2 separate regions of the Homo sapiens genome follow, and region 1 is linked to region 2. The links are contacts of gene promoters, found by promoter capture Hi-C in blood cells and fetal thymus (Javierre and others, 2016). All regions are on one chromosome and are shown on one strand. The core of a region is centred on a gene start or on the middle of the fragment in contact, and the rest is flanking DNA. Distances in the headings are between cores, read along the strand shown. Region 1 overlaps TEX10 (testis expressed 10). Region 2 holds the start of MSANTD3-TMEFF1 (MSANTD3-TMEFF1 readthrough).

Region 1 (3,033 bases), core at 290-2,789, 100 kb before region 2:
TCATAGGAGCATGAACCCTATTGTGAACTGTGCATGCGAGGGATCTACGTTGCATGCTCCTTATGAGAATCTAACACCTGAAGATCTGTCACTGTCTCCCATCACCCCCAGATAAGACTGTCTAGTTGCAGGAAAACAAGCTCAGGGCTCCCACTGATTCTACATTATGGTAAACTGTAAAACTGTTTCATTACGTATTACAATGTAATAATAGAAATAAAGCGCACAATAAATGTAATGCACTTGAATCATCCCAAAAACCAAGCCTCCCACCTCAGGTCCATGGAAACATTGTTTTCCATGAAACTAGTCCCTCATAGCAAAATGGTTGGGGACCGTTGGCCTAGACCACTGTTGACTTCCCTAACTGTGATTTGTGCTGCTGTTCACAGGCTATTTGCTAAGTATTTAATGCATTTACTTAAGAGTAGCCTGTAGGCTCCCCAAAAATCAATCATGAGGGGGGAATCTTTTGAAAAGTAGGTCACACTGGCAATCCATCTTTGCTAAAAATCCCTCAATTTCATCATCTCAACCTCCTCATAAAGTTAATTCCTTTTCTTTTTTCCCATTTATATCTCAGCACGCTGTCACTTCCATCAGGGCAGCCTTCTCTAAGATGGTCCTCCCCTCATGAAAGATCAGGACCAACTCTTTGTTACATACTCCTGTATTAACCTAAGCTCTTCCTTCACTATATCTATCACAATCAGTCACTGATTAAAGAATCAAGTGAAATAAATGTCTTTTTCATTAGACCGTACTCCATGAGAGCTGGTACTCTACCTATTTCCTTTACCATGAAATGCTCAGCAACTAGTACAATAAGTGCCTTGCACATAAGAGTCCAATAAATTTCTTGAATGATGATATGCTGATACATTTTTCAATAATTTATTTACACTGAAGTCTACTAAATCCTAAACATCTAAACCACAATTTAATCACATTTTGATGAAAATTATACATGGAATGCCTTATTTGAAAAAATACACATACATATAATTCTCCATCAATACTTTGAGAGTTCATGGATTTTCTGAAGCTTACCTATGAATCCCAGAAGAAAAACTCTAATAAGAAAATTGTATGGGGGGAAAAAGTCTAACATCTTGCTCAATAAAGTGTCTCTTTGATTCTGTCCCCTCAACTCCAGAAGCTCCCTAAAACAGTTCTGACTGAACCAAAAGTCTTCAATGCCAAAAGGATCTGAAAGATGAACTCCTGAGTCAAGAAACGGCTTCCACATCAAGGCCAGTGAAGAGCAGAAATCAGACTGGACCCAGATCCACGCTCTCCATCCATTTCCTAATCCTGTAGCTTTCTTGTATGCTATCTCCTCTAGTTACAAAAGTCTCATCCCTTGCATTTCTGCCTCCTGAAACCATATCCACGTTCATACCCAGTTCAAATACTACTCTTCAATTTAGCTTTGTCTGTTTATCCTAATAAGCAGTTATCTGTCTCTTCCTATGAATTCTTATAGCACTTAGTTGTATAGTTCTAATGATACTTTTATACTGCTTTGTGTTACATATGTAAATATACACATGTAAATGTTAGTTACAGAGCTACTGTTTCTCAGCTTCAAAGTCGCCCTCTATACTCTGCTTTGTGACCCTGGGGTTGGGACTCTGCGACCCACATTTTTTCCTTTGTAGATGGCTTATTAGGCTCTGCCAATAAAGGGGTGGTACAAAGGGCCTAGAAAGCTGTAAGAGGAAGACGGGACACTCTTCTGTTTGCTTGCTAGTTTTGTTTTTGTTTCCTATTGCTGCCAGTGTTGATCGGCAGCTCTTCTTCAGGTCATTTGCAGTTCATTATAGTAGCCATAGCAGACTCCAGTTTGTAGTTTTTCTGACACAGAACCAGAATCATCATGCCTCTAAGAAACGTCAGCACCAGCCAGCCAGCACCCGCTTTTCAGAGTACTGGGCCCCAGCCCTATGGGGTTCTTGCTCTCAGCTAAAGATATCAGTACCTGCCTGAGGAGCATACCCTTCTGAGAGGTTAGAGTTTTGGCTCCCTTCCTCCAAGCTTCTTCCCTTCTTTGTTCTCCCAGTTCTACAAGTAGTATCTGCTTCTTGCAGTTGGTACCTCCATAATACCTAACTTCCTTTGCATACCTAGTTAACAATTATTTACATTAAATTCTCTTGTTAAAAAAATCACTGTCGGCCAGGCACGGTAGCTCACACCTGTAATCCCAGCACTTTGGGAGGCCAAGGTAGTGGGTCACGAGGTAAGGAGTTTGAGACCATCCTGGCTAATATGGTGAAAGAAACCCCATCTCTACTAAAAATACAAAAATTAGCCAGGCGTGGTGGTGCATGCCTATAATCCCAGCTACTCAGGAGGCTGAAGCAGGAGAATCGCTTGAACCTGGGAGATGGAGGTTGCAGTGAGCCAAGATTACGCCTTGCACTCCAGCCTGGGCAACAGAGTGAGACTCTGTCTCAAAAAAAAATCACTGTCGCAGTTTCTGTTTCATGACTGGACCCTGACACATTCTTTTATGATTCAGAATATAATTGCTTAAGGCTGGGTACAGTGGCTCATGCCTATAATTACAGCACTTTGGGAGGCTGAGGTGGGCAGATCACTTGAGGTCGGGAGTTCAAGACCAGCCTGGCCAATATGGTGAAACCCTGTCTCTACTAAAAATACAAAAATTAATCAGGCATGGTGGTGAACACTTGTAATCCCAGCTACTTGGGAGGCTGAGGCAGCAGGATCACTTGAACCCAGGAGGCAGAGGTTGCAGTAAGCTGAGATGGTGCCACAGCCTGGGAAACAGAGTGAGACTCCATCTCAAAAAAAAAAAAAAAAAAAAAAAAAAAAAGTATATATATATATATACATATATATATACACATATTTGTTTTTTATATATATTTATATATTATATATAATATACATTTTTATATATTTATATATATTTATATATATTTATAAAACTGCTTAGGAGGGCAAGGTACAAGGCTTAAAAAATCTGATCCTCTCTATCACAATACTTTGTTCTACCCTGTTCAC
Region 2 (2,909 bases), core at 275-2,774:
CTTGAGGAATGTAAAGAGGGACACTGGACTCAGTCTCTTAAGTGCCTAGGCCCTTTCACATCTGAAATTACATACATTGTTTACTTAGGATTTTAAAAAACAGCCCGCATACCTGAAGGATCACAGACTCCAACCCCTCATTTTAAAGATGAAAAAACTGAGGTTGCCATTGCTCCAGGTACATGCCACAGAGTGATGAAAACGTCAAATTTTTTTTTTTTTTTTTTTGAGACAGTGTCTCCTTTGTCATCCAGGCTGGAGTGCGGTGGTGCAAACATGGCTCACTGTAGCCTCGACCTCCTGGGCTCAAGCAGTCCTCCTACCTCAGCCTCCCAAGTAGCTGGGATTACAGGTGCATGCCACCACACCTGGCTATTTTTTTTTCTTCTTTTTCTTCCCTTTTTTTTTTTTTTTTTTTTTTTTTTTAGAGACAGGGTTTTGCCTTGTTGCCCATGCTAGTCTCGAACTCCTGGGCTCAAGCAATTTACCTACCTCAGCCTCCCAAAGTGCTGGGATTACAGGTGTGAGCCACTGTGCCCGGCTGTACATCTTTTTTTTTTTTTTTTTTTTTTGAGATGGAGTCTCACTCTGTCACCCAGGCTGGATTGCAGTGGCACGATCTTGGCTCACTGCAACCTCCACCTCCCGGGTTCAAGTAGTTCTCCTGCCTCAGCCTCCTGACTAGCTGGGATTACAGGCGCACGCCACCACGCCCAGCTAATTTTTGTATTTTTAGTAGAGATGGGGTTTCACCATGCTGGTCAGGCTGGTCTGGAACTCCTGACCTCGTGGTCCGCCTGCCTCAGCCTCCCACATCATATTTTATATTTGAGTACACGGTGGCTTCTTTTGTCCTCAGCTGTGACAAAAGTTTTGGAAAGCTGTTTAGTTCTAAAACTGGCTAACATGATTTGGGGGAATAATCAGTTCCCTAATATTAAAGAAAAATCAATTAACAAATCAGAGTCTAGGCCGGGCGTGGTGGCTCACGCCTGTAATCCCAGCACTTTGGGAGGCCGAGGCAGGCAGATCACTTGAGGTCAGTAGTTCGAGACCAGCCTGCCCAACATGGTGAAACCCTGTCTCTACCAAAACTACAAAAAAAAAATTAGCCGGGCGTGGTGACAGGCACCTGTAATCCCAGCTACTCAGGAGGCTGAGGCAGGAGAATTGCCTGAACCCGGGAGGTGGAGGTTGCAGTGAGCTCAGGTCGTGCCACTGCACTCCAGCCTGGGTGACAAGAGCGAGACTCCGTTTCAAAAAAAAAATGTTCAACTTTTCTTTTTTTGCTGTTATATACCAGATAGTCACAGTATAGCCACAACAATCCACTTTGAAATAAAACCCCATTCCTAGTACATTTCTAAATATTCTCCAGAGTCCTGAATATCATAATTCAACCTTAATGGAAAAGAAAGTACTGTATTTCAGACAAGGGAATCAAGTCAGGAATTAAGCTTCAGTGATTTATAGGCATTGTTTTTGCTGGAGTTGGTAATCATTGCTTCAAACTTCCTTTTACAGGATAGCTAGCGGCCAGGAGAAATACAGTGGAAAATGCAAAACAACGAAATTATAAAGCCTGCCAAATACTTCTCAGAATTGGAAAAGAGCATCCTGCTGGCTTTAGTAGAAAAGTATAAATATGTGCTGGAATGTAAGAAAAGTGATGCGCGAACTATTGCCCTTAAGCAGCGTACCTGGCAGGCGCTGGCCCACGAATACAACTCTCAGCCCAGCGTGTCCCTGCGGGATTTCAAACAGCTGAAGAAGTGCTGGGAGAACATCAAGGCTCGGACCAAAAAAATTATGGCCCATGAAAGGAGAGAGAAAGTGAAACGGAGCGTCAGCCCTCTCCTGAGTACCCACGTCCTAGGGAAGGAGAAGATCGCCAGCATGCTGCCGGAGCAGCTCTACTTCCTGCAGAGCCCCCCGGAGGAGGAGCCCGAATACCACCCCGACGCCTCAGCCCAAGGTATCCGTTCCTGATGCCAGTGTGCACGCTCTCACTGGGTATCTGTTTGACATTTTAATTTTAAAACCCTCCACTTTGAGGGAACTTCTAAAAATGAAACTTTTGTATCAAATCCAATTTTCCTAATTCAAGATCTCAGGATTATATAGGACATTCAAAGTCTTATAGAAGTGGGCGTGGTGGCTCGTGCCTGTAATCCCAGCACTTTGGGATGCTGAGGCGGGAGGATGGCTTGAGCTCAGGAATTTGAGACCACCCTGGGCAACAAAGTGAGACCCCTGTTTCTACAAAAAATAGAAAAAATTAGCTGGGCATGGTAGCATGCACCTGTAGTTCCAGCTACTCGGGAGGCTGAGGCTGGAGGATAACTTGAGCCCAGGAGGTGGAAGCTGCAGTGAGCTGTTATTGCGCCACTGCACTCCAGCCTGGGTGACGGAGTGAGACCCTGTCTCAAAAAAAAAAAAAAAAAAAAAGTAATATATAAAAACAAAAGTACTTGTTTACATCATTGTGCTAGCTCTCTTGGAGACTTTATTATTACTTAAACATAAAGAAAAATAAGGGACTGGATTAATGGAGTTCTTATTAGTGAGGTGCTGCAGTTGCCTATCAGCCTGTCTCAAATATGTTAAAGAGAATTGTATGAAGATTTGTATTCATCCACTCAATTTCACTTTTTTCAAAAAATATTTTTGGAGGTCCTTATTATTTGCAAAGCATTGCAGTAGGCCACTCAAAAGGCCATATTAAAAGAGTCAACCGGCTGGGTTCTGTGGCTCATGCCTGTAATCCCAGCACTTTGGGAGGCTGAGGTGGGCGGATCACCCGAGGTTGGGAGTTTGAGACCAGCCTGACCAACATGGAGAAACCCCGTCTCTACTAAAAATACAAAATTAGCCGGGCGTGGTGGTGCATGCCTGTAATCCCAGCTACT

The links. The method cuts DNA at HindIII sites, captures the fragments that hold promoters and counts their contacts. A CHiCAGO score of 5 or more calls a contact.
Region 1: a fragment that was not itself captured here is called in contact with the fragment with the promoter of MSANTD3-TMEFF1 in region 2 in 1 of 17 cell types (M1 macrophages); the score reaches 5.4 in M1 macrophages.

Annotation. Positions count from the first base shown.
Region 1 is chr9:100,336,433-100,339,465 of GRCh38, forward strand. The region is part of intron 5 of TEX10 (testis expressed 10); the gene reads right to left. Among named protein-coding and RNA genes, the nearest start is that of TEX10, 15 kb to the right of the region's middle. The HindIII fragment of the contact is 992 bases long and covers 1,044-2,035 here.
Region 2 is chr9:100,440,382-100,443,290 of GRCh38, forward strand. MSANTD3-TMEFF1 (MSANTD3-TMEFF1 readthrough) reads left to right here and starts at 1,525. Exons shown (of 10, transcript NM_001198812.1): 1 at 1,525-1,975. The coding sequence starts at 1,558. MSANTD3 (Myb/SANT DNA binding domain containing 3) reads left to right here. Exons shown (of 3, transcript NM_080655.3): 2 at 1,525-1,975. The coding sequence starts at 1,558. The HindIII fragment of the contact is 4,285 bases long and covers 1,456-2,909 here.